Linked DNA regions of Homo sapiens: all the other regions are linked to region 1. Evidence: promoter capture Hi-C in human tissues and cell types (Jung and others, 2019). All regions are on one chromosome and are shown on one strand. Each heading gives the region's core, a stretch centred on a gene start or on the middle of the fragment in contact. The rest is flanking DNA. Distances are from core to core; before and after follow the strand shown. Region 1 holds the start of TMEM234 (transmembrane protein 234). Region 2 has its middle 33 kb from the start of BSDC1. Region 3 has its middle 10 kb from the start of BSDC1. Region 4 overlaps KHDRBS1 (KH RNA binding domain containing, signal transduction associated 1). Region 5 has its middle 12 kb from the start of TMEM39B. Region 6 overlaps TMEM39B (transmembrane protein 39B).

Region 1 (4,390 bases), core at 1-2,500:
AGCAGAACAGTTCCAAGCCAGGACCCACCTGTCGATGCCAAGGTGAGGTAATAGAGAAGGGATCCACACTGGTTGAGGAGAAAGGGCATCAGGTACTGGAAAGAGGAGAAACCTGCAGTCAGTGTGATGGCCTGACTGAGCAGCACTGCCTTCTTTGAGCTCCTAGCGAATGTCTTTCCTTGGAGGGAGGCAGGGTTATAAGGACCCAGAGAACACTAATCCCTCTAAGGAGGATCCTTCCAGGGCAAAGAGGGAAACAGACTGAAGTCTGTGCCTTTGCTCAAACTACCCTCTCCCTCACCTCTGCTAGTTCCCATCCTGCAAGGCCTTGAAGCCAATGTCAGCCCCTCCAGGAAGCCTTCCCCAAGTCCTCCAGCTCCAGCCTTCCTCCTCTGAACTCCTCCCCTGCAGGGCCAATTTGAGCCCCAAGCCCTCCCTCTGGAAAGGCTCACAAATGTTGCCTTATGTAACTGAAGGAATCACAATAAAATGTGAATAATGGCAGCCATAGATTGAGCACTTACTATGTTCTAGGCCTAATGCTAAGTGCTCTACGTATCTCACCTAATTCCTGCAACTGACCTATCAGATGGTTATTATTATAATCGCCATTTACAGATGATGAAACTGAGGCTCAAGGACAACTGACTTTTCCGAGAATTTCTAGTGAGTAAGTGGTGGGGCTGACCCAGACCTGTTTGACTCCAAAGACCAAATTCTTGGCGGCAACTCCACCGAGAGAGGGGCCTTTCACAGAGACGCACCTCAGTATTCAAGAAGAGGGTCTTCATCTCCTGTAGCAACTGCTGGGCCCAGGTCGGCTCATGAACCCGCTGCAGGCCGGCGGAGGCCCGCTTCAGCAGCGGCTGCGTGCCACCCCACAGAGCGGCCACCAGCACCAGAGCCAACACCTGCCCTGAATGCAGACGAGTGAGTCACCCTGACCCCCACCCCAAACGGCCGCCCACCCCGCCCTCTCCTGGCCTTCTAGCCCCAGCTAGCCGCCCCCACTTCCCTCCTTCGCTCTCTTCGCCTCGGCTGCGACTGGCGGCTAAGGCAGGCCCAGGGAAGCTAGGGAGATGAATCCAGGAGTCCGGCCTCTGGGGTTGTAGCAGGGGTCGGGGTTAGAGGGTGGATGTGGAGCAGGAAATGAATTCGAGGCGAGGGTCGGGAAATCCATGGAAGGGCGGGGCCGGCTACCTACCCAGAGACGCCGCCATGGCAACGCCGCTGTCTTCTACTTCCGGGAACGAAGGGGCGGAGACCCATAATCCGGAAGTGACCTCGAAACCTTTTCCGGTCTTACTCACGTTGCGGCCTTCCTCGCGTCACAGCCGGGATGGTGAGTTTCAGAGTTAGGGGTATTGCAGTGGGGGTCCTGGGCTGAGGCTGGGGCCCAATTCCGAGCACTGACGTTACTGTCTTGTCCCCACAGAAGCCGATCCTACTGCAGGGCCATGAGCGGTCCATTACGCAGATTAAGTATAACCGCGAAGGAGACCTCCTCTTTACTGTGGCCAAGGACCCTGTGAGTGTTGGCTGGAGGGGGTCCGGGAGGGGCGGGATCCTTCTGCCAGGACGATGGGTGGACACGCCAGTTTTGCCGTTAGCGGGGAACCAAAGAGCAGCCCATTGTGAGAAGTAGGGAGAGGCCATGCCGGGGGTAGGTTGGCGAAAGTATTCTACCGGGAAAGGTGGGGAAGAACTCTATTGGCCGAGTGCGGTGGCTCACGCCTGTAATCCCAGCACTTTGAGAGGCCGAGGTGGGAGGGTCGCTTGAGCCCAGGAGTTGGAGACCAGCCTGAGCAACGTAGTAAGACCCATCTCTACACACAAAAAAATTAGCCTGACATGGTGGCCTCGCGCCTGTGGTCTCAGCTACTTCGGAGTCTGAAACGAGAGGATCGCTTGAGCGCGGTGAGCTGAGATCGTGCCACTGCACTCCAAGAAAAGCAAGAGACCACTGTGGAAAGGGGATAAAGATGAGGGTCAGCTTGCCCAGAGAACGGGATGCGACCTTTAGGGATAATCTAATCTTTCTACCAGGATAGGTGCAGGCTGTGTTATTCAGACACAGGGAACTTAATGAGGGTGTCTCTAGTCTCATTTTAAGTCAATCCCATCCTGCTACTCAATGCCAAACAATCCCTCATGATACTGCCTTTTGAGGCACCTGGCCATTTTATTTTATTTTTTCTTGAGACGGAGTCTCGCTCTGTCGCCTAGGCTGGAGTGCAGTGGCGCGATCTCGACTCACTGCAACCTCTGCCTCCCAGGTTCAAGCGATTCTCCTGCCTCAACCTCCCTAGTAGCTGGGACTACAGGCTCGTGCCACCATGCCCAGCTAATTTTTTGTATCTTTAGTAGAGATGGGGTTTCACCATGTTGGACAGGCTTGTCTTGAACTCCTGACCTCAGGTGATCCGCCTGCCTCGGCCTCCCAAAGTGCTAGGATTACAGGCATGAGTCACCACACCCGGCCTGGCCATTTTCAAGATGAGAAAACTGAAGTTCAGAGGAGAGAAGCACTGTATTTGAGATCATATAGTGAGACAGTGGCAGAGCAGGCACCAGAACCCAGACTTCCTTACTACCAGCTGCTCCCACTTGGATAAGACATCAGAGATACTGTTTTTCTGGACTGGAGCTCAACTTGGCCTTTTATTCTTTGGAGCCGTTGGGAGTCCCAGGAGAGCTGGAGCTAACAAATGAGGATGCCTTTACAAGCCGCCTGACTCCTCTGTTGCTTCCCTTCAGGAAGGGAGGAGAATCCAGGAGTTGGTCTTTTTACCAGCTCCCTGCTGTTTCCCAAGAAATAAACAGAAGAGGGCAGAATCAGCCTTGCTACAGGCTGCTGAGGGTTCCTGGGGCAAAATAGGAAGCCATTGCTCTTACTGGGATGTGTACTATCCTGTGGTTTGACTTTTCCAGATCGTCAATGTATGGTACTCTGTGAATGGTGAGAGGCTGGGCACCTACATGGGCCATACCGGAGCTGTGTGGTGTGTGGACGCTGACTGTATCCTTATTTTGGGTCTGAGTCCGTGTTGCTAGGGTCTGTCAGCGATGGAGAGGCTGAGTTGGGAGTTGGGAGTTGGGGGTGCTGTTGAGGGCCTAGAGAACGATACCTCCTACTCCCTGGTCTCTTCACTGACTGAGGAAACATTCAGGACAAATTCCAGTTCTGGATAAGGAGGTAAGAGGGGTAGAAAGGCTCTTTGGGGCTGAACAGGGAGATGATTCACTTGGCATCCCAAGAGGACAAGGGCTCGGGTGAACTTCGTCATATTTCTTAACAACTCTTCAGGGGACACCAAGCATGTCCTCACTGGCTCAGCTGACAACAGCTGTCGTCTCTGGGACTGTGAAACAGGTAAGCTGGGTTCATTCACCTTTTTAGCAAATATTGAGGACCTACAGTGTACCTGTTTGAGTAAACAGGTCCTAGGAAAATAGAGATGAAATCCATAGATAGTTTCCAGTCTAGGGAATAAGAGACAAGAAAGATAGATGAGAAAATACACGCCATGGTAGAGGAAGCATAGATTAAGTTTTCTTTTTTTTTTTTTTTTTCTTTTTCTTATTTTGGAGACAGAGTCTCACTGTCACCCAGGCTGGAGAGCAATGGCACTATCTCGGCTCACTGCAACCTCTGTCTCCCGGGTTCAAGGGATTCTCCTGTCTCAGCCAGCCCCAGTAGCTGGGATTATAGGCGCACGCCACCATGCTTGGCTGATTTTTTTTTTTGAGACAGATTCTCTCGCTGTGTCACCCAGGCTGGAGTGCAGTGGCACAATCTTGGCTTACTGCAACCTCCGCCTCCCAGGTTCAAGTGATTCTCCTGCCTCAGCCTCCCAAATAGCTGGGATTACAGACATGCGCCATCACACCTGGCTAATTTTTGTATTTTTAGTAGAGACAGGGTTTCACCATGTTGGCCAGACTGGTCTCAAACTCCAGACCTCAGGTAATCCACCCACCTCGGCCTTCCAAAGTGCTGGGATTACAGGCATGAGCCACTGCACCTGGCCACCAGCTAATTTTTGTATTTTTAGTAGAGACAGGGTTTCACCATGTTGGCCAGGCTGGTCTCGAACTCCTCAGCTCAAGTGATCCACCCGCCTTGGCCTCCCAAAGTGCTGAGATTACAGGCACAAGCCACTGTGCCCAGCCTAAGCTGTTCTGTTTAGTGCCAGGTCTATGCTGGGTACTGGGGACATGGAGGGAAATCAGATCAGGTCTTTGCTGTGGAGAAGCACAGTCTGAGGGAGAGACAGATATATTGCAGTCTACGTATGAGTAGTGCCACATTAGCAGGATGTCTGAGGAAAGAGTCTAGGTAAGAAGTTAAAATACTTGGCCAGGTGTGGTGGCTCACGCCTGTAATCCC
Region 2 (4,390 bases), core at 526-3,025, 200 kb after region 1:
TTTGGAGGCTGAGCTGGGATCTCCTCCTGGGCGGGAGAAGGTTCAACCTCTCCAGAAGACTCAGAAGGCTGAGCTGGCTGCTCCTGCTCTCTGGAGAAGGTTCAGGCTCCACAGGAGGACCTGGAGGCTCAGCTGGGGCCTCCTTTTGGGTTGCAGAAGGTTCTACCTCCTCTGGAGACTGGGTTGGGGCCTGCTGCTGGGCTGGAGAAGATTCAGTCTCCTTGGTAGGCTCTGAGGTTATAATAAGCTCTGCATCCACAGGTTTAACTGTAACAGTGGGCAAGTTATAATGAGCTTGATCCTCACCAAGAGGGTGAAGTGTCACCTCATGATTCGGTGGAGTTTGAGCTGCACTCTCCACAGAGGACTCTGGAGGCTGAGCTGGGGCCTCCTGCTGGGTCTGAGAAAGTTCACCTCCCCAGGAAATTCAGAATGCTGAGCTGGCTTCTCCTGCTCACTGGGGGAAAGTTCAGCCTCCACAGGAGGACCTGGAGGCTCAGCTGGGGTCCCTTGGTGGGTTGCAGAAGGTTTCGTCTCCTCAGGGTGCTCTGGTGTCTGAGCTGGGTCCTCTAATTGGGTTGAGGAAGAGTCCACCTCCTCAGGGTGCTCTGGAGGCTGAGCTGCGGCCTGTTCCTGGCTTGACGTAAGTTCCTTACCTGGCTCTGGAGTTACTGTAAGCTCCACATCCACAGGTTTGACTGTGACACTGGGCAAGTGTGAGTGCTGAGCTTCACTCCAACTTTTTTTTTTTTCTTTTTGAGACGGAGTCTTGCTCTGTTGCCCAGGCTGGAGTGCAGTGGCGTGATCTCAGCTCACTGCAACCTCTGCCTCCCGGGTTCAAGCAATTCTCCTGCCTCAGACTCCTAAGTAGCTGGGATTACAGGCGCCTGCCGCCACGCCTGGCTAATTTTGTATTTTTAGTAGAGATGGGGTTTCACCATACTGGCCAGGCTGGTCTCTTGGCCAGGTTGGTCTCGAACTCCTGACCTTGTGATCTGCCCACCTCAGCCTCCCATGCTGGGATTACGGGCAGGAGCCATCGCGCCTAGCTGCTTCACTCCAACTTCTAAATAGAACATTTACCTCATGATGTATTGATGGCTGAGCTACAATCTCTTCGGAGGCAGGTAGCTGCTATGCTGGGGCCTCCTGCTCTGTTGAAGTAGAATAGACCCTCTCAAGGGACTGTGAAGGCAGAGCTGGGGCCTCCTGCTGGGTTGAAGAAGGTTCTACCTCCCCAGGGAGCTGTGGAAGCTGCTCTGGGGCTTCTTGCTGGAGTGAAGAGGACTGGATCTCTTCAAGGTCTCTGGATTTTGAGTTTCGGGCTCTAGGTGAAATTGAAAAAGTCCAACTTGCTCAGGGGGCCCTGGAGGCTCGTCTGAGTTCACCTGGAGTTCTGGGGACAGGGTGCCTGGATACAGTATATCCATACTTCCATCTAAATATCCTGCAAAGTTTGTTTCTGACGCTGAGGTTTTTATACAAATCGGTGTGGAGTTCCAGCCACAACCTTAGCAAGCCTCCGATGCTAAGCTAGACCTTTCTTCAGGTTCTTGGGCCAAACAATAAGCTTCGTTGCTTGTGAATTCTATCCAGAGGTAGAACAAGTATTTCATATGCCTGATGATCTGCAGCCTGATCTAGATTTGCAGTTTTAACCTTACTTTTGAGGCAAAGAGTCCGAGCTAGGGCCTGGTTCTGATCCCAGTCCAGCATTGGGACCACCTCTGGGAGCCTTTCTTGCCGAGTCAGCTTGTCATTCAGATCCTGGTGTGCAGCAACGAACTGCTCTGGCCACGGGGGCAGCTCTCCAGCTGTATCCGTGTCCAGGAATGGAACCAAAGTCTTGGTGAAAGTCTCAGTCGATTCCTGAGGCAGAGCTGACATCTGGGAGGAAGCAGAGGACCCCAGGTATTCAAAGGCCCCGGGTCTGCGTGGTGGGGGGAGGGTAAGCGCATGGGGGCGATTCGGGTGGGAGATCAGAGGAGCGGGAAAACAAGGGCTCATCGGCCACAGGGCATCGGAGATCAGCTGCAGCGGGTCCTGGACCCACTCCAGAGGCTGAGCCGCCTGGACGAGTAGCCACAATAGTTGCTACGTGAGGAGGGGGTCGTGGGAGCCAGAGGCACAGCCGGGACGTGACATGCGCTGGCGCCGCGCACAGAGCTGGAGCCATTCTGGCAGCCCCAAGACGCTAGCGCCCCTAGCAACCGTGGGCACCGCCCCCTCCTTTATAAGCAAATTTTATTAGGTGAGGTCTAGATCCGCTCCGCGTCACCAGGGCGATCTCATCCCACAATCCTGCCCAAGCCTCCCTTCTCGCCCCGCCCCGCAGGAACACTCCTCCCCTCCCCTAAGCGAGGAAGGATTTGGGCAGCAGACCTTGGTGGTCCCAAGACTCCAGCAGCCTATTGTGGTGGTGGTGGTGGTGGTGGTGGTGGTGGTGGTGTAGGGTTGGGTGGGGTGGGGTGCAGGCGCGGCAGAGCTTCCCAAGGAAGTCACGGGACCTCACCTCGGGATATTCAGAGGTGCTAGTCCAGTTCTGGCAGCCTGAATTCTTTCTCCTCCAAGCTGAAATCCGAGAGATAATCTTCCTCCTCTTGGCCAATACGGCTTCCAGGGAAAACAACTGACCTGCAAAATCTGCGCCAGTTAGGGTGGCAGGCAGAACACACATTATGGTCATTTATTCCAAAATGTTGCCATTTTCGCTAAACTTTCGATACCCTTTGTTGCATGTTTGATAATTAATTCACCGCCCTATTAGGTACGGGCTGCCAGGCAACAAGCGAGGACTGCAAATTTTCTGTAGGACAGGTTTTGGGGTGTGGGCAATTCAGTCTGAGAGAGAAGGCCTTAATGCGAGTGAACAGCCCTTTGCACTAGCCTGGGAGGAGGCCAAAATGTCATCCTGCCTTGACTTAACACAGCCTTTACCCTAGAAGCTACAGCGCCACTCTCAGAGGTCTACCCTATGTGCACACATGGAGAAGACGCTTAGGTTGTTAAAGTCAGCATGTTAAATAATTTCCTGAAATGCGACTATAACGAGAACTCAGCTGGCTTCACCCACAGCCATTCTTACCTATTTTATTACTCATTGTCTGGCACAATCACAAAGTGCAGGTGATACTGACACCTACTTTTTAGGGTTTTTTGATGATTTAATTTGATAATGAATGTACACTGCTTTGCAAACAGTGAGCTTTCAATAAAAGGTACCTATTGTAATTCTCAAAAAAAAAGTGCACTATCTTGAATACGCTGAGCAAAGAGACCTATCATTTCCATGCCCTCATGTAGAGGTTTAACTGAAAGAGAAGATTGGGAGGGCACACACATGACAATCTCATCTTAGAAGGACCATGGATGGGGAATTCCATAACCAGAGGCCTCTTCCGGTTTGCTGGTATTCCTCTCCTTGAAAGGTCAGCATTTAATGTTTCCATTATGATGCAACGAGGATGGAAGGCAACATTAGGAGCTGTGGAAGCACAACAATCCATAGACTCTTTAGCCATCGACTGGCCCTCGATGTCCTTACAGCAAAGGTGGGGTACCTGTGCAGTCTTAAATGAAACATGCTGCTTCTGGATAAACACCTTTAGTCAAGTAGAAGAAAACTTACAGATGCTTAAAGATCAAGTAAAAATCATTGACAGGTCAAGAGAAAATGCAGGTTCCAGCCCTGGATGGCTACAATCCCTCTTTAATGAATTCCAGTCTTCTTTGTGGAACTGGTTAGCTCCATTATTAAGCCCTCTCTTGCTCATGTGACCTTGTCTGCTCAATATTATAACTCAAATTGTTTCCTCTTGCCTAGAAGCAATCAAACTCCAAATGCTGCTGCAGACTGAACTATGCATGAGCACGCCTTTCTTCCAAGGACCCTTAGATAGACCTCAGGAGGAGTCCTAGCTGCTGTTCCCCACACAACGCCCCTTTTCAGAAGGAAGTAGCCAGAAAGAGTCATTGCCCAACACTCCCTAACAGCAGTTAGGGTTACCACTCCAGAGCGGGGAATGATACAGGAGTTAAGAAGAAATTACTTAGGCAGATAGTAAGGGTATGGGAGTCCTCGGTAAGGCTTTTCTTTTTAATGAAAAGCAGCCCCAAATCATTAAATCACTTTCTTTCTTTTTTTTTTTTTTTTTTTTTTTTTTTGAGACAGAGTCTTGCTCTGTGGCCCAGGCTAGAGTGCAGTGGTGCAATCTCAGCTCACTGCAACCTCTGCCTCCCAGCTTCAAGTGATTCTCATTCCTCAGCCTCCTGAGTAGCTGGGACTACAGGTGTGTGCCACCACGCCCGGCTAATTTTTGTAATTTTAGTAGAGTCGGGGTTTCACCATGTTGGCCAGGCTGGTCTCGAACTCCTGACCTCAAGTGATCTG
Region 3 (4,390 bases), core at 718-3,217, 180 kb after region 1:
AACAATTGGCAGTACAGGAAGCGTTGCTGACAATCACAAGGTTGTTTTCATACTTCTCAAGGTTCACGGCCATCACAAACATGGGGGCATCAACAGAGAGAGCAGATATGACCCTTTTGGTTGCACCCTCTAAGTGAGCCCCAGCCTTCTCCAAGGCAGTGAAGATGCCAGTGGACTTCATAACATAATCAGCGTCAGGACCAGCCCATTTGATTTTGATGGGATTTTGTTCCTGGAAGATGGTGATGGGATTTCCATTGGTGACAAACTTCTTGTTCTTAGCCTTGATGGTGCCTTGGAACTTGTCATGGGTGGAGTCATACTAGAACATGTAGACCATGGAGTTGACCTGAATGAAGTGGTCATAGATGGTGACACTATCCACTTTGCTAGAGTTAAAAGCAGCCCTGGTAAACAGGCTTCCAATATGGTCCCATCTATTTACTCTGGCCTTCACTCACACCATGATGTCTCAAGGCTGCTGCTGGTGCTACACGAGATGTGTCTGTATGTTGTATGGCAAGAGCAGAGAGCTCATCTGTGTTCTTGAAGTAACTTACATTTATTGTATCTATATGGTGGAAATACTATATAATAGTGTACTTTTTTTTTTTTTTGAGACGGAGTTTCACTTTTGTTGCCCAGGCTGGAGGGCAGTGGCACTATCTCGGTTCACTGCAACCTCTGCCTCCCGGGTTCAAGCGATTCTTTTGCCTCCCCCTCCCGAGTAGCTGGGGTTACAGGTGCATGCCACCATGCCTGGCTAATTTTTTTGTATTTTTAGTAGAGACAGAGTTTCACCATGTTGGTCAGGCTGGTCTTGAACTCCTGACCTCAGGTGATCCACCTGCCTCGGCCTCCCAAAGTGCTGGGATTACAGGCATGAGCCAGCATGCCCGGCCTAATAGGAGATATCTCTCCTCAACTCTGCATTCAGTGATTGATGTCACATTGGCACCTTAAAATTGATGAAGGTGGGAGTGTTTAATCATTAAAATCCACAAACAATACAAATCATGCCCCTTCTTCCGCCAAGCCAATTGTTAAACTTTTACCAGAATACACGGGTCCTGATTGTACTCCTAATGTCCTATGTGATTTTGAGCAAAGCCCTGTTCTCCCCAGACTCCCATATATTTACGTATCACTTTATAATTGACAAAAGGGGAGCATCCTTTGTGTGCTAGGCACTGTTGTCTCATAGAATTCTTAGAACAACCAAAGGGGTGGAATATTGTAGCCCAAAGAGCAAAGAAGAACTTTGTCTCCAGGGTGGCTCTGTTACCAGAGTTCCCAAAAGATGGCACTGTGGACTGGCTCAGAGGAAATATAGCAAAATATGTAATATATATTATATAGATTATATATATATATATTTTGAGATGGAGTTTTGCTCTTGTTGCCCAGGCTGGAGTGCAATGGCGCGATCTAGGCTCACTGCAAACTCTGCCTCCTGGGTTCAAGCGATTCTCCTGCCTCAGCCTCCTGAGTGGCTGGGATTACTCATCACATGCATCACATGGCATGTGCCATCACACCCGGCAATATATATATATTTTAAGACAGGGTCTCACTCTGTCTCCCAGGCTGAAGTGTAGTGGCACGATCTCGGCTCAATGCAACCTCTGCCTCCTGGGCTCAAGCCACCCTCCCACTTCAGCCTCCCAAGTAGCTGGGACCACAGGCACACGCCACCATCTGGCTAATTTTTGTATTTTTATAGATACAGGGTTTTGCCATGTTGCCTAGGCTGATCTTGAACTCCTGGGCTTAAGCAGTCCACCCGCCTCAGCCTCCCAAAGTGCTAAACTTACAGGCGTGAGCCACCGCATTCAGTCAATAATAATATTCTTCTGGGCACCTCCAGCATTGTTTTTGGGACTCACACACCATAAGCCTCCTTCTTGGCTATTTCTGGGAGTGGGGAAAGATTTAGCTCCCTCTGGCTTCTGTGTAAGGGAGGTGGGAGGTGGGAAGTGGAATATTCTTACTACAACAGTGAGGGTTTTTTCCCAAAAGGGAGACTGGGCTTGGATGCAGATAGCCCGAACATCAACTGTCCTGTTCCCCATTTGCTGCCAAACACATATACTCTGTGTTTTGAACTTAGACTTGCTTCCCAATTAGCATAAAGTAGCTACCACTTCTGTAATTAAAAACACTGTTTTAATTACTCTCCAAAGAAGGCATCCAAAGCCTTGACGACTGTCCTCCGGCTCTCAGAATTCCTGCTTAGGAATCTGCAATCCATCACTGAATGGTGAAGTTAATCTCCCTATAAAACCACCTAGAGACGATAGTGGCAGAAAGGGAGAAGAAAGAGAAGCAAAAGTATTTGAAATATGTAAATATCTACATCAAGGAAAGAAATTCAAGTAGAGACTATAATCCGCCCCCCCCCCATATAAAGCAGTCTAAGGCTGATCTTGTATTTATGACTTTCCTTCTTTACTATCTATTCTAGGTTCCATCTGCCTTCAGTCAGCAACAGATGTTCAAGTTATTTAGCCACAGGAGAGACCCACCCCTTCATTCCTGAGCTATCTGTGGCCTAGAAGATCCTTTTGTATAGAATTGCAGTAGTTTTGCCGTGACTTTGATCACAGAATATTGCAGTAGTTGTAGGATCCTTAGGAAATATAGCAAAGTCTATCACTAAACCTCCCTGCCTCCACTCAGTGGTAACAACCTATTTCCGCTTGGTAACTAGAGTATAAAATTCTAGAAAATGGCCGGGCGTGGTGGCTCACGCCTGTAATCCCAGCACTTTGGGAGGCCGAGGTGGGCGGATCGCGAGGTCAGGAGATCGAGACCATCCCGGCTAAAACGGTGAAACCCCGTCTCTACTAAAAATACAAAAAAATTAGCCGGGCGTAGTGGCGGGCGCCTATAGTCCCAGCTACTTGGGAGGCTGAGGCAGGAGAATGGCGTGAACCCGGGAGGCGGAGCTTGCAGTGAGCCGAGATCCCGCCACTGCACTCCAGCCTGGGCGACAGAGCGAGACTCCGTCTCAAAAAAAAAAAAAAAAAATTCTAGAAAATATCTTGATTTTTTTTTTTTTTTTGGCCTGTCTGTTCAGTGGCAGGAGATACTCAAAAAGGTTGAGTGGCAATTTCAACTTCCAATTTGTTGAAAATTTGTGTCACGTGATGGAGGCATTTCTCTCTTAGACACTAAAAGCTTTTAACATACCTCCCCTCCCTACAGTCATAGAGTCAAGAAGCAAATAACTTATGAGTGAGTCAAAAAGTTTCACTGTGGGCTGGGCTCAGTGGCTCACACCTGTAATCGCAGCACTTTGGGAGGCTGAGGCAGATGGATCGCTTGAGGCCAGGAGTTTGAGACTAGCCTGGGCAACATGGCAAAACCTTGTCTCTAAAAAATACCAAAAAAAAGTTAGCCAGGCATAGTGGCTCACACCTGTGGTGCTAGCTGAGGCAGGAGAATCAGTTGAGCCCGGGAAGTGAAGGTTGCAGTGAGCCAAGATTGCACCACTGCACTCTACCCTGGGTGACAGAGGGAGACCCTGTCTCCAAAAAAAAAAAAAAGTCTAAGTGTGAAAGAAACCACTCCTACACACAGCTCTTGGTTTCTGAACTATGTATCTGGCTAAGGAAGAAATGGTACACTGGTTCAGAGCATATACTGCATCCTTTTAACAGTGCTGTATCTCACAGGGTGCTATCTAACAGCTGGTAGATTACCTGGACCTTCAGTAGGTTTTGCCACCACTCTAGAAGGCTGGCTGATGGAGCTCAGGTTAGTGAATCCTCTGGTGTCTGCTCACTCTCACTTCTTTTCTTGTGAAGTGAATTTCATGGTCAGAAACAATATTGTGTGGGACACTAAGACTGTGTATTAAGTCCATAGATGGAGGTTCTGAGAGAAGAATGAGAAGCAGGGAAAGGAAATTCAAACCCAGAGTAAGCACTGTCACCGGTGAGACAAATTGTTCCTTCTTCACAAGGGACATGGTCCTATGTAATTGATCTGCCACCAGATAGTTGGTTTGTTCCCTCAAGGTATGACATCACATCAAGAGTCCAGGACTGTTTGCTCCTGTAGGCAAACAGGGCATCAGTAGGTCAGTAGTGGTGGTTGCCAGGACGGCCTTGGACAGGGATGTCCCTGTTCTTGGGCCTATGCATAATTTCCACTCCTGTCACTATCGTCCTTTGTCCATGAACCCATTGAACAAGAACTGGACTGGCTGGTGGAAAAGGCCATCTAGTTAATATCCACAGAACAGATCTGCTGATTAGTGAAAGCTTCCTGCACAGCGGGGGCCCATGGTGAGCAATCATTTGGCACACCTGCTGTCTCATGATCTGTGACCATTCCAGGAAATCCACCTTTCCCAAACCTCTTTGTCATTAACTTGCAATCTTTT
Region 4 (4,390 bases), core at 761-3,260, 190 kb before region 1:
CCTGTCAAGCAGTATCCCAAGGTAAGGCAAAAAGTGCTTTGGATCTTTGAGTTATCTTTATAGTTATGAGAGAGTCATGGGCTATAATAAAGACTCCTGGGGATTGTGATGCTTTAGAAACTTAAGCCTGTGAAGCTTCTCTTTCATGCTTGTAGTACCTGTTACTGAGAGTTGAAATATCTAAGTTCTTAACTAATAACATAGCTATAGCCAGGAAGGAAATATAATCATCTTTTTATTATCAAAAAGTTTCTTTCTCAAATGATTGCTCAGGCTACAAGTTCAAAGAAAAAAAAATTAAAACCTGAAGAGTTGCTCTTTGTCAAAAGACTAACCTGAAATCTAAATAAAAGGAAATATAATATGAATCCTCAATTGGTTGAAGTTAATTTTATTTTCTTACTAAAAGTTTACTTTTAAGTAAATGCTTTTTTTCTTCCTTTTTTTTTTTTTAGGAAAGCATTTAGTTACATTTAGTTTATCCAGCGTGTTATCAAAGGGTGCTATATAGTCTCTTCTGTTCTGAGGTCACTGCCTTAAAAATGTTGATGTATGTTAAGTGCTGGGCCAGGCACAGTGGCTCATGCCTGTAATGCCAGCACTTTGGGAGGCCGATGCAGGCAGATTGCTTGAGCCCAGGAGTTCAAGACCAGCCTGAGCAACATAGCGAAACCCCATCTCTACAAAAAATACAAAAATTAGCCTGGTGTTGTGGTGTGCACCTGTACCCAGCTACTCTGGAGGCTGGGGCAGGAGGATCACTTGAGTCCAGAAAGTTGAGGCTGTGATGAGCCATGATTGTGTCACTACACTTTGGCCTGGGCAACAGAGTGAGAGCCTGTCTCAAAATAAAGTAAAAAATAAAATAGTAAAGGTCTTAATGTATTATGGAAGAGCACCAGAATACATCAGAAAAGCCAAATTCAGGTCTAGGAACTGCCACTTTCTAGTTTCATAACCTTAAGCTAATCACTTTATTAATATGGCTTCAGTGTCCTTCAGTAAAATGGGAATGGTAATACTCTACCTTTGCAGGGTTGTTTAAAATCAAGTGAGGTAATTTATGTGGAAATGTTTTTATATAGTAGCATGTATATTTAGAAATCCTCTATTTTCTGTCAGTTCAATTTTGTGGGGAAGATTCTTGGACCACAAGGGAATACAATCAAAAGACTGCAGGAAGAGACTGGTGCAAAGATCTCTGTATTGGGAAAGGGCTCAATGAGAGACAAAGCCAAGGTAAGCTCACATTAGTGAGGCAAGAGGACATCCTAATGCCTTCTACTTGCCCAGAATGCAGTATGGATGTCTTATAGAGGCGGCAAGAATTTTGTATGTGTACAGAATGTGGCTCCTTTAAGTTTGCACTGGATGCAAGAGATTATACACCAAGTTAATTTACTTGGCTTGGCAACCCTGGAAGAGCCTAGGTGTGCCCTGGTGATAGTTTTCTTTTGGACTTTTTGACTGTGTAGTAATGGAAACAGCAGTAGCATGTTGCGCATTGGTAGGATTGTCTGTGAAAACTTGAAAGGGGAACTGAATATACTAAAATTTAGTCTAAAGCAGACAAAAGACGCTAAAATGCAAATAGCACACCCCCTTTTTTGTAACCTGGAAAAGTGAGAACAATAATGTGAGAGCAGATGAGTTTGAGGATTAGTTGGTTTGTTTTATAGCCGGTTTGGAATGTGAGGCTCACTAAAAGAATGTATTCCAAAAGGAACCATGAGTAATCCTGACTACAGAATCTAATGCGTCTTTTTTTTCCCCATGCCATAGCCGCGTACGCTGTGTACTCTGTGACAAGAAACTTCTCACCAAAACAGAATAGTCTTAGCCTTCTGGGGTCACCTTATTTGATGAGATATTCCTGCTACAGTCCAAAAACCAATTCTTTCAACCCTCCTTTTATGTAGTCTAATGGACACATGTTTGTTTTCTCAGGTCATTTCTTGCTAGATGCATATAGTTACGGCTGAAGTGTGTTCTAACTAATGAGATTTACATGAGCTTTTCTTCCCTCTGTCCTGACTTCTTTCTTCCCCTACCACTCCCTAGACCATATAAGCAGATAAGCAGAGCTCGTGGTGATTAACAGCTCTACCTGTGATTTAAAAACAAATGCTTGGCAAACAGCTATTATCTGAATAGACTAGAATTAAGTTTTTCTTCTTTATGCTTTTAGTAGGAGCTCCAATGGATATCTCAGGGATTTAAGACAACAATTAACTGTAAGCAGCAGACCATGTGCAAGTTTAGCAGGCTGTGCAAATTACTGTTCTTGAGAGTTTGTTTTACTTTTTTTTTTTTTCTTGAGAGGGAGCCTTGCTCTATTGCCCAGGCTGGAGTGCAGTGGCTCACTGCAACCTCCACCTCACGGGTTCAAGCAATTCTCCTGCCTCAGCCTCCTGAGTAGCTGGGATTACAGGCGTGCGCCACCATGCCCGGCTAATTTTTGTATTTTTAGTAGAGACGGGGCTTCATCACATTGGTCAGACTGGTCTCGAACTCCTGACCTTGTGATCCTCCCGCGTCAGTCTCCCAAAGTCCTGGGATTATAGGCGTGAGCCACCGCGCCTGGCTGCTTGTTTTACTTTCTTAAACTTTACTGTTTTTCTTTTTTCTTTTTTCTTTTTTTGTTTAATTCTTCTCAGCTCATACCAATTAACTTTACTGTTTTTCATGGACATTAGGGGTATTTCTTGCTGTTCCTTTGGCTTAGAGGTAAAGGTGGTGTTTTCTCCCTAGTCCATGGTGTGACATTTCTCTGCATTTTTCCATAGGAGGAAGAGCTGCGCAAAGGTGGAGACCCCAAATATGCCCACTTGAATATGGATCTGCATGTCTTCATTGAAGTCTTTGGACCCCCATGTGAGGCTTATGCTCTTATGGCCCATGCCATGGAGGAAGTCAAGAAATTTCTAGTACCGGTAAGGAAATCCATATCCTGTGTCTTCTGAGCAAAAGAGAACTGGGATCTTATACTGTTGTGAAGGTAGGGGTTCTTAACTAAGGTCTCTGCATAACCTGTATGTATACCAAATTCTGCACTTATGTTCATTTTCCTTAGGTAGTTCGTTACTTGCACCTAGTTCTCAAAGCATTATGCTCCAAGGCCACTCTATCCCTCCTTGTCTAATGTGGTTTTCATTGTGTACCGGTATCTTGTCAGTATCTCGGGTCCACAGTGTGCCTGCATTCTGATATTTGGTTAACTAAGGTTTAACAGGGTCTTCACCTAGCTGAGTATTTTGGTAGTAGTGTGGAACAAGGAGATTGTGTTAGGAAAGTGACTAAGGTGGGTCTCTGCACTCAAGAAGTTCATGCTGTAGAGAGTAGAGACTAGCAGCAAGAAGCTTATAGCATCTAGTGTTATTGGGTTAAATTCTGACCTGAGCACACTCAGGGATTTCTTTCCTGGAGGAGTTTGCTGAGGACGAGTTTAGTTTGGAAGAGGTTGACTATTGATGTTTAACAGATAGGTGAGCAGCTTTTTTCAGACTATTACTGAGGACTAGATAGAGATGGGACAGGCCAGTTTATCTATCTTGCTTGTTACCACCTTTGAATACTTGGTTGGAATATTACTTTGAATAAATAGGAAATGGTACTATTTTTGCCTTTTAGCAAGGCCTGGTGGTTGTCAGAGTTAACATACTACTGTTGAATATTTAATAACAAGGATGAATCTGGAGACTTATGAAGGATTTGGAATATTATTAAGTAGAATTGAGTAAGCGTCATGTGTTCATCAGAAAACTAGGAGGAGGTAAGATACAGTCCTTGGTTTTCTTGAATGTTAAATGAGGGAATTAGAACTAAATGTGGTGTCAGATGATGTGAAAATTGATAGGGCAAAAATTTATAGGCAGTGTGGGCCAGGCACGGTGGCTCACGCCTGTAATCCCAGCAATTTGGGAGGCCGAGGAGGGCAGATCACCTGAGGTCGGGAGTTCGAGACCAGCCTGACCAACATGGAGAAACCCTGTCTATTAAAAATACAAAATTAGCCGGGCGTGGTGGCACATGCCTGTAATCCCAGCTACTAGGGAGGCTGAGGCGGGAGAATCACTTGAACCCAGGAGGCAGAGGTTGCGGTAAGCTGAGATTGCACCATTGGACTCCAGCCTGGGCAACAAGAGTGAAACTCCATCTCCAAAAAAAATAAATAAATAAGTTTTTAGGCATTGTGTACCCATAATGCTGAACTCCAAGGATTCCAACAGTCTCAAATGTCTTAGCAGCTGCTTTGCTTTCAAGTACCTCATCTTCATTAGAATGTTCAACATGAGGCAGGGCGCGGTGGCTCACACCTGTAATCCCAGCATTTTGGAAGGCCGAGGCGGGTGGATCACGAGGTCAGGAGATCAAGGCCATCCTGGCTAAC
Region 5 (4,390 bases), core at 994-3,493, 160 kb before region 1:
ACAGAGCGAGACTCTGTCTCAGGAGAAAAAAAAAAAAAAAAAAACAAAACCTTTTAGGCGATAGAATGAACATATTAAGGCTCCAGGTTACTGACTGGAACAACTAAGGGAGATGGTAGCGCCATTTAAAAGATCGGAAGCACTGGCCAGGCATGGTGGCTCACACCTATAATCCCAGCACTCTGGCAAGCCATTAAGAGGATCCCAGGAGTTTGAGACCAGTCTGAGCAACATATGGAGACAAAAATTTAAAAATTAGCCAGGGATGTTGGTGTGTGTCTGTGATCGTATATGGAGGCTGAGGTTGGAGGATCACTTTAGCCCAGGAGATCAAGGCTGAAGTGAGCCATGATGTTGCCACTGTACTCCAGTCTGAGTGACAAAGCAAGACTCTTTCTTTAAAAAAAAAAAAAAGAAGAAGAAGAAGAAGGAGCATTGCTATAGGTTTTAGCATGAGATCAAGCCCCTTCCCTGTGCCGCAGATTTAAGATGCGTCTCCTCTAGTCCACCCTGAGTATTTGGTGCTGGGATGAATCCTTCATAACATCCATCGCCCCTTGAGCCTAACATTGAGTTACCAATAATAGTGATAATAAGATGCCTATTTTCTGATTTCCATTCTTCAAAAGACTTTAAAGATTTTTGTTCATCTTTTTCACATTTCTAGGACAGCAGAAAGCATTTTTCCCTTTGTTTATAGAGGCTTCAAAGCTTGGATAGGCCCCCCAAAGGTTTTGTTGATTCTTCCCTGGATCCACTCAGCTGAGATATGGCCAAGGACAGGAGATATTGAGCGTGAGACTGCATTTTCATTACCAGACAGACAGTAAAAAGAGAATTCATAGGCTGTGGACTTCTGTTTTCTACCCATCTGTGTACCCAAGAAACTTGTGTACTGAATGAAACAAGTAGAGTTGTGCTGTGGGATGGGGCAATTGTGAGGGAAGCATCCTGGTCAGGTGGGAGGCTGGGAAGCCCCCTAATAGGGAGCTTTCTTAATTTTCTACCTTGTGTCTTTGCAGCTATCAGAGGACTCCTGAAACCTGGAGAGCTACCTGCTGTATAAAGGCTGGCCTGAGGGCATTTGCTGAACACAGAGAAACCCAGGAGAGGAGATCAGCAGTTTTCTTTCACTCTACTTGATCTGTCAGATTTACCCACAGAAAGCCAGTCAGGATCCCTTAAGAGTCTTTAGGCCCAGAATGGAGTCCTCAGGGCTGCAGGGGACTGTGGTGCTAACAATTAAACTGTTCAAGACTTTAAAGAGTTGAAGGGGACTAATGGGTATCCCTAGCATGGCCTCCTAGATGGGAATTAACTGGCAACTCCTACTGTGCCATTCCCAGTATGTGTGCTTCCCTTTAGCCTCCCATAGAATTGGCTGAAACACCCTACCACCGTTTTCTGTTTCCCCACTACCACACCTGTGTTATGGGTGTCAGCCTGTGAGTCCTTGAACCCTTCCAGAGGGCTCCCAAGGGAGGGTGATCACTGCCCTTCCATAAAAGGCTGAGGAAAGCCAAGTGAGAAGATTCAATTAATTTGGGCAAGTTATTTAACATCTGAACCTGTTTTTCTCTTCATTGTTTATTACTTACCTTGTCCAAAAAGGTCATAAAGGGTAGGGCTTTTTCTGTTCCACCTCTGTACTATATTTCTCCCCAACAAATATCTGCCCCTGAGGACCTCAATAAAGGTTTGGTCAAGTGATGAATGGTCCCACTCTGGTAGCTTCTATCAGCTTTGGGAGAGAGCCAAAGCCCCCTTGTTTAGCTCTCACTTTCCTTCCAGCTATACTAGGCCAGCTATTTGTTCTGCCATTTTCCCTTGAAGGATTGGAAAGTCAGCCTTTGATAGGCTTCTGGTTTCCTCTGGCCTATTTCTAGGTTGATTTATACTCAGCTTCCTGAGAGGCTAGGGACCTCTGATACTGTACTCTTCCCTAATGCCTTCTGGTTATTTATCCTAACAAAGGAACAAGGGGAAGGACTGAGTTTAGGGAGAGAATAGAGCCTATCTGCATTTTAACTGTGCCTGGGGCATTCTAGTGAGCTTGGATTCATCCTTAGCAGGAACAGAAGTATAATGGAAAGGGATTCCTTAAAGTCAGTTGATTTACACTGGGCAAGCTATTTAATCTCTGAGCCTGTTTCTGTCATCATTGTTGATTACTGTAAATAACAGCTAATAATTTACTGATTTCTTAGTATGTACCAGGAAAATAAGAAAAACTGAGACTCAAGGAGGATAAAAAATTTGCCTATGGTTAGAAAAAGACTTCATGGTCTATACTATCAGACTTCATGGCCTATTCTTTTGACCTGTTTGTACCTCTCACAGCCACAAGTGCTTTGAAATATTAAAGCATTATGTTTGCATGAGGGGTTCGTCTAGGATGACAGATCATCTAGGTTTACCCAAGAGAGAGTTTCTGGGATATGGGACTATCCAGTGCTAAAACTAGAAAAGTCACAGGCCAGCCTCGATGAGTTTGTCACCCTGTTGTTTACATTGGATGCTCTGAGTCCAGGGCTGACAAGGGAGGAGTTTGGGGTGGGGAATTAGGGAATCAGATGGCATCTTCATCATATATAAATGGAGGCACAGAACCTGAGTCACTGACTGAGGAGCTGGTGTTAGGTTCCTAGATCGCTATACCTTCAGTCTGCTAGGATTTCTACTCGGGAGCCACAGAATTTTATAGGAAAGCTTACAGGGCTGAAGCCAAACAGATCTGAATTCAAATCCCAGCTCATCATTTGCATATTTCCAGAGCTTGTTTTAATTTTTTTTTTTTTTTTTTTTTTTTTTTTTGCTTTAAGAAGAGCTGTAGGGCCTGTTTACTCCATCAAAGTAGGATAAGAATTGCTACCTACTGGCCAGGTGCGGTGGCTCACGCCTGTAATCCTAGCACTTTGGGAGGCCGAGGTGGGCAGATCACGAGGTCAGGAGATCGAGACCATCCTGGCTAACATGGTGAAACCGCATCTCTACTAAAAATACAAAAAATTAGCCGGGCGTGGTGGTGGGCGCCCCTAGTCCCAGCTACTCAGGAGGCCGAGGCAGGAGAATGGTGTGAACCCAGGAGGCGGAGCTTGCAGTGAGCCGAGATCGCGCCATTGCACTCCAGCCTGGACCACAGAGCAAGACTCCATCTCAAAAAAAAAAAAAAAGAATTGCTACGTACTGAATGGGATCTGAGAAGCAAATGATGTGTTTGAAATGCCTGGCATGGGGTCTAGACACAATACTGCTCAACCTTTAAGTTTCCTTCCTCCTTTTTTCCCAGGCTTGTGGGTCTTATCCAGTCCTGTCACCTGTCACAGTCTTCGTCCTCCTCCTGTTACCACTTATGGCCCTTGGGATCTTCCTTTGAGAGCCCTGACTTGTTGGGCTTGGCCCACCCACCCAGCTGCCCTGTATGTCAGTCACCTCCCCTGTAAGCTGAGAAGGGATGACATCAGCCTTTCCCTCTTCCCCCCTCCCAAGCCTCTAGGCTGTTTTGAGCCATAAATATTTTAGCTGGGCCTTTCTCTGGCTGTTGCCAAGGTGATGGGCTCTCAGGGGACTGGGGTGGGAGTGTGGAGGTAGGGCTGGCAGCCTGGGGCCTGGCAGCAGAGCTGGCCCTGGAGGAGTGGGTATGAGGCCTGGCCAAGAGCCAATGCTTGCAGCTTGACAAGCAGGCTGTTGCTCTACCTGCTTGCCTTCCCTTTCCTCAGCCCCTCAGAGCCACTCCTATTGCCTACAGGCCCACTTCTGCCCTTGGCTGCTGCTCTTCGACCTCAGGTAAATTGTTCAATGTCCCTAGGCTTTCATTTTAACATTCGTAACAAAAATCCAAGAAAGCAAAGGAGGTTTTGTAAAAATGCTGTAAGATGCCAGGCTAGTGAATCATGATTGGAGAAGCTAGGTCCCACTGCCCTTTCTGATAGACCTAAAGGCTGAGGTCTTGATGCCATGTGGATGTCACCCTAAAGACAGCTCTTAGATATGCCACTCTCTCCCCTTCCTCCTTCCCCACGATGCACCCCCTGCTCTTTAGAAATTTTCTAAAGTTCCCGGGCCAGCTAGATGACCTGGCCTGCCATGGGGTAGCCCAGGAAGGAGTTGGGCCTGGTGGCTTATGAGCAGAGTTGAGAGTCTCTTTTGCTTGAGATACAGAAATTCAGGTCCCTAAACTAGATCTGGCCCTCATCCTTACCCACCTCACCTCTTTCCTGGTGACCTTACATCTGGCTAGCTGCTAAATTCTAGGTTGTGGCAGCATGCCCCACCCCCTCTCCTTGGGATGGGTCTAAGAAGGCCCATAGAGGAGGCACTGGGATCCATTCCCTACCCTACCATTGAGAATCGCTGCAGTTGTATCCAGGATTCCACATCTTATGCCCAG
Region 6 (4,390 bases), core at 763-3,262, 140 kb before region 1:
CTGCCCATTTCTCGCCTTGCATCAGGGAGAACTTTGGTGAGGTGTTGGATCTGGCTGCTTCTGGGGCAGGCTGCTGGCTGCCTGAGCATTAACAGTCGTTTCCCAACCCCCAGGTTTTCTGGTTCACAAAATTCCTCAAGCTGGGTCAATCCTGGTCTCTGGGAAGCTTCAGAGCTGGCACCTCCCCCTTTCTACCCTGCATGTCCAAAAAGGCACTGGCATGGGAGCCCTGTCACACTTCCTTCAGTTATATCTACTTTTTAATTATAAGAGTGACATGTGGCCAGGCACAGTAGCACAAACCTGTAATCCCAGCACTTTGGAGGCCAAGACAGGCAGATTGCTTGAGTCCAGGGGTTTGAGACCAGCCTAGGCAACATGGCGAAATCCTGTCTACTAAAAACATAAAAAACTAGCCAGGTGTGGTGAGGCACGCCTATAGTCCCAGCTACTCAGGAAGCTGAGGTGGGAGAATCACCTGAGCTCAGGAGGTCGAGGCTGCAGTGAGCCGAAATTGTGCCACTGTACTCTAGCTTAAGCAACTGGAGTGAGGTCCTGTCTTTAAAAAAAAAAAACATTATAATGTCTTATAAAAACATTAAACTTTACAGAAGCTTTTAACATGGAAAAAGAAAGTCCCACATAGTCTTATTCCCCCAGAAATCCATTACTGGCAGCAATTTTCCCAAAATATTTTCTGTGCAAGTACACACACATGCAGTTTTTTTGTTTGTTTGTTCTTGAGACAGTCTGATGTCACCCGGGCTGGAGTGCAGTGGCACGATCTCGGCTCACTGCAACCTCTGCCTCCTGGATTCAAGCAATTTTCCTGCCTCAGCCTCCCAAGTAACTGGGATTACAGGTGCCCACCACCACGCCTGGCTACTTTTTGTATTTTTAGTAGAGTTGGGGTTTCATCATGTTGGCCAGGCTGGTCTCGAACTCCTGGCCTCAAGTGATCTGCCCACCTTGTCCTCCCAAAGTGCTGGGATTACAGATGTGAGCCACTGTGCCTGGCCACATGCAGTTTTTTAAAAAAGAAAAATGGTATTATGCTATGCATGATGTACAATTTACCACACTTTTCACTTAATCATATAACAGATATTTTTCTATGCCAATACATACGGGTCTGTCTCATTATTTTATTTTATTTTAGAGATGAGGGTCTTGCTGTATTGCCCAGGCTGGAGTGCAGTGGCTATTCACAGGTCTGTTCCCACTACTGATCAACACAGGAGTTTTAACCTGTTCTATTTCTTTCTTTTTTTTTTTTTTTTTGAGATGGAGTCTCGCTCTGTCGCCCAGGCTGGAGTGCAGTGGCACAATCTTGGCTCACTGCAAGCTCCACCTCCCGGGTTCACACCATTCTCCTGCCTCAGCCTCCTGAGTAGCTGGGACTACAGGCGCCTGCCACCACACCTAGCTAATTTTTTGTATTTTTAGTAGAGACAGGGTTTCACCGTGTTAGCCAGGATGGTCTCAATCTCCTGACCTCATGATCTGCCCGCCTCGGCCTCCCAAAGTGCTGGGATTACAGGCATGAGCCACCGCGCCTGGCCAACCTGTTCTATTTCTAACCTGGACCAGTTCATCCCCTCCTTAGGCAATTATGTGGTCCCCCACTCCCAGGAGTTCACCATATGGATGCTGAACTTCTATGCAGGCACCTCATCGGCATAGCACATTATAGCATAGAATTCCTCGGCTCAAGCAATCCTCCCACCTCAGCCTTCTGAGTAGCTGGGACTATGGGCATGCGCCATCATGACCTGCTGCCTCATTTTTTTAATGGCCTCGCAGTATTCTATGTTATAGAATTTTCACAATTTATTTGTCTTCTATTGGCAATTTTTTTTTTTTTCTGAGATGGAGTCTTGCTCTGTTGCCCAGGCTGGAGTGCAGTGGTGCAATCTTGGCTCACTGCAGCCTCCAACTCCCGGGTTCAAGCAGTTCTCCTGCCTCAGCCTCCCAAGTAGCTGAGACTACAGGCATGCTCCACCAAGCCCAGCTAATTTTGTATTTCTAGTAGAGATGGGGTTTCTCCATGTTGGTCAGGCTGGTCTCAGGTGATCCGCCTGCCTTGGCCTCCCAAAGTGCTGGGATTACAGACATGAGCCACCATGCTCGGCAATTTTTTGTATTCTTAGTAGAGATGGGGTTTCACCGTGTTAGCCAGGATGGTCTCGATCTCCTGACCTCGTGATCCGCCCACCTTGGTCTCCCAAAGTGCTGTGATTACAGGCGTGAGCCACCGTGCCTGGCCTACTGGCAAACTTTTAAGTTGTTTCTAGCTTTTCCTTATTCATAACAATGAATAATTGCATATGTGTCCAGTATCTCTGCACAGTAGATTCCCAGAAGAATTAACTACACCAAAAGATGGATTCATTTAGATTTTTCATAGTTATTAACAAATTGTCCTTCGAAAGGGTTGCACTGGTTAGAACTTAAGAGTTGCCTGTCGGACGCGGTGGCTCATGCCTGTAATCCCAGCACTTTGGGAGGCTGAGGCGGGTGGATCACGAGGTCAGGAGATTGAGACCATCCTGGCTAACACAGTGAAACCCCGTCTCTACTAAAAAAATACAAAAAACTAGCCGGGCATGGTGGATGGCACTTGCAGTCCCAGCTACTCGGGAGGCTGAGGCAGGAGAATGGTGTGAACCTGGGAGGCGGAGCTTGCAGTGAGCCAAGATCGCACCACTGCACCACTGCACTCCAGCCTGGGCAACAGAGTGAGACTCTGTCTCAAAAAAAAAAAAAAAAAAAAGAGTTGCCTTAATTTGACAGTTTATGGTTACTACCTGGTGAATCTTTTCTTCATGGATGCAGATAACACCCAATGTCATATTATGCTTTATTTTTCATTATTTAATTTAAAAATGTTTATTGACCAAATATAAACATATTGTAAAAAATTAAATCCAATAGTGCTGAAAAGCTTATAATGAAAACCATTGCTGGGCACGGTAGCTCATGCCTGTGATCTCAGTGACTTGGGAGGCTGAGGTGAGAAGATTGCTTTAGCTGGTGGATTTGAGGCCGAAGTGAGCCATGATCACACCAGTGCACTTCAGCGTGGACAACAGAGTGAGACCCTGTCTCTAAAAATAAATAAATAAATAAATAGAAAAACATTAGTCTCCAATCCCGCCTCCAGATTTTTAGTCCCACTCTTCATAGAAAAACATTAGTCTCCAATCCCGCCTCCAGATTTTTAGTCCCACTCTTCAATAGCAGTCTCTTTTACTTTCTGGGTTTTTTTATTTGTTTGTTTGTTTGTTTGTTTGTTTACAGACAGAGTCTGTAAACCTATTATCCAGTTCTAAAGTGGCACTGCACTCCAGCCTGAGTGACAAGACCCTGAGTCAGGGTCTGGCTCTGTTGCCCAGGCTGGAGTGCAGTGGTGCAATCTCGGCTCACTGCAACCTCTGCCTCCCAGGCTCAAGCCGTCCTCCCACTTCAGCCTTCTGAGTAGTTGGAACTACAGGCATCAGCCACTGTACCTAGCCTGCTTATTCTTTTTAAAAATTTATTTATTGGCCAAGCGTGGTGGCTCACGCTTGTAATCCCAGCACTTTGGAAGGCCAAGGTGAATGGATCACTTGAGGTCAGGAGTTCAAGACCAGCCTGGCCATCATGGTGAAACCCTTTCTCTACTAAAAATACAAAAATTAGCCAGGTGTGGTGGTGCACGCCTGTAGTCCCAGCTACTTGGGAGGCTGAGGCAGGAGAATTGCTTGAAACTGGGAGGTGGAGGTTGCAGCGAGCTGAGTTTGCACCACTGCACTCCAGCCTGGGCAATAGAGTGAGACTCTGTCTCAAAAAAAAGAAAATTATTGATTTATTTTAGAATTGAATAAGAGGTTTACATAGTTAAAATTCAGAAGGTTTAAAAGAGTATACCATGAAAAAGTCTCCCCTTGACTGCTGCCTCCCAGCCACCCAGTTTCCTTTCCAAGAGGTAATTATCAATGTTTTTGGTTTCTTGTATATCCTGGAAACAAATGTTCTACGCATATACAAACATACCACATACACACATATGCAAGTATATTGATTCCCTGCAATGACAGATGATTTAGCTCACGATCCCATCCTTACTGTTCCCAGTAATTGATAGCTTTTAATATTTTTAAGTTTCTGTTGGTTATTTTCATCAATAGTATAAGTATCCCTATACTTTTTTTTTCCATCAACAATAGTATCTTGAATACTTTTTATGTAAGACAAGAATATTAGGCACCCTATCCAACCACTTTTCCTCCCCTCTTCCTCTTTTCACTTCCTGGCAGCTGTATTTTTACTTTTATATCGTCAAGCTTGACATTCACATTCTCCTATGTAACCACATTTAAGCCTTCCATTCTTTGTCTAAGCCTAATTC

The links. The method cuts DNA at HindIII sites, captures the fragments that hold promoters and counts their contacts. A contact is called where the count stands out against the background at its distance.
Region 2: a fragment that was not itself captured here is called in contact with the fragment with the promoter of TMEM234 in region 1 in 1 of the 25 tissues and cell types used here (spleen).
Region 3: a fragment that was not itself captured here is called in contact with the fragment with the promoter of TMEM234 in region 1 in 1 of the 25 tissues and cell types used here (hippocampus).
Region 4: a fragment that was not itself captured here is called in contact with the fragment with the promoter of TMEM234 in region 1 in 1 of the 25 tissues and cell types used here (spleen).
Region 5: a fragment that was not itself captured here is called in contact with the fragment with the promoter of TMEM234 in region 1 in 2 of the 25 tissues and cell types used here (aorta and spleen).
Region 6: a contact is called between a fragment that was not itself captured here and the fragment with the promoter of TMEM234 in region 1, in 1 of the 25 tissues and cell types used here (spleen).

The regions. Positions count from the first base shown.
Region 1 is chr1:32,221,103-32,225,492 of GRCh38, forward strand. TMEM234 (transmembrane protein 234) reads right to left here and starts at 1,251. Exons shown (of 5, transcript NM_019118.5): 1 at 1,205-1,251; 2 at 765-916; 3 at 29-95. The coding sequence starts at 1,220. EIF3I (eukaryotic translation initiation factor 3 subunit I) reads left to right here and starts at 1,305. Exons shown (of 11, transcript NM_003757.4): 1 at 1,305-1,342; 2 at 1,436-1,528; 3 at 2,932-3,019; 4 at 3,308-3,373. The coding sequence starts at 1,340. RefSeq lists enhancers at 524-1,723, 1,000-1,633. The HindIII fragment of the contact is 14,812 bases long and covers 1-4,390 here.
Region 2 is chr1:32,424,903-32,429,292 of GRCh38, forward strand. It overlaps the pseudogene LRRC37A12P. Among named protein-coding and RNA genes, the nearest start is that of BSDC1, 33 kb to the left of the region's middle. The HindIII fragment of the contact is 5,832 bases long and covers 1-4,390 here.
Region 3 is chr1:32,402,650-32,407,039 of GRCh38, forward strand. It overlaps the pseudogene GAPDHP20. Among named protein-coding and RNA genes, the nearest start is that of BSDC1, 10 kb to the left of the region's middle. RefSeq lists an enhancer at 3,477-3,556. The HindIII fragment of the contact is 3,514 bases long and covers 211-3,724 here.
Region 4 is chr1:32,030,402-32,034,791 of GRCh38, forward strand. KHDRBS1 (KH RNA binding domain containing, signal transduction associated 1) reads left to right here. Exons shown (of 9, transcript NM_006559.3): 2 at 1-21; 3 at 1,123-1,239; 4 at 2,787-2,933. Among named protein-coding and RNA genes, the nearest start is that of KHDRBS1, 19 kb to the left of the region's middle. The HindIII fragment of the contact is 5,442 bases long and covers 1-4,390 here.
Region 5 is chr1:32,059,141-32,063,530 of GRCh38, forward strand. It overlaps a transcript of KHDRBS1 not described here. Among named protein-coding and RNA genes, the nearest start is that of TMEM39B, 12 kb to the right of the region's middle. RefSeq lists enhancers at 1,701-2,313, 3,328-3,622 and a silencer at 4,268-4,390. The HindIII fragment of the contact is 6,151 bases long and covers 1-4,390 here.
Region 6 is chr1:32,077,922-32,082,311 of GRCh38, forward strand. All of the region lies in intron 5 of TMEM39B (transmembrane protein 39B), which reads left to right. Among named protein-coding and RNA genes, the nearest start is that of MIR5585, 6.8 kb to the right of the region's middle. The HindIII fragment of the contact is 3,244 bases long and covers 391-3,634 here.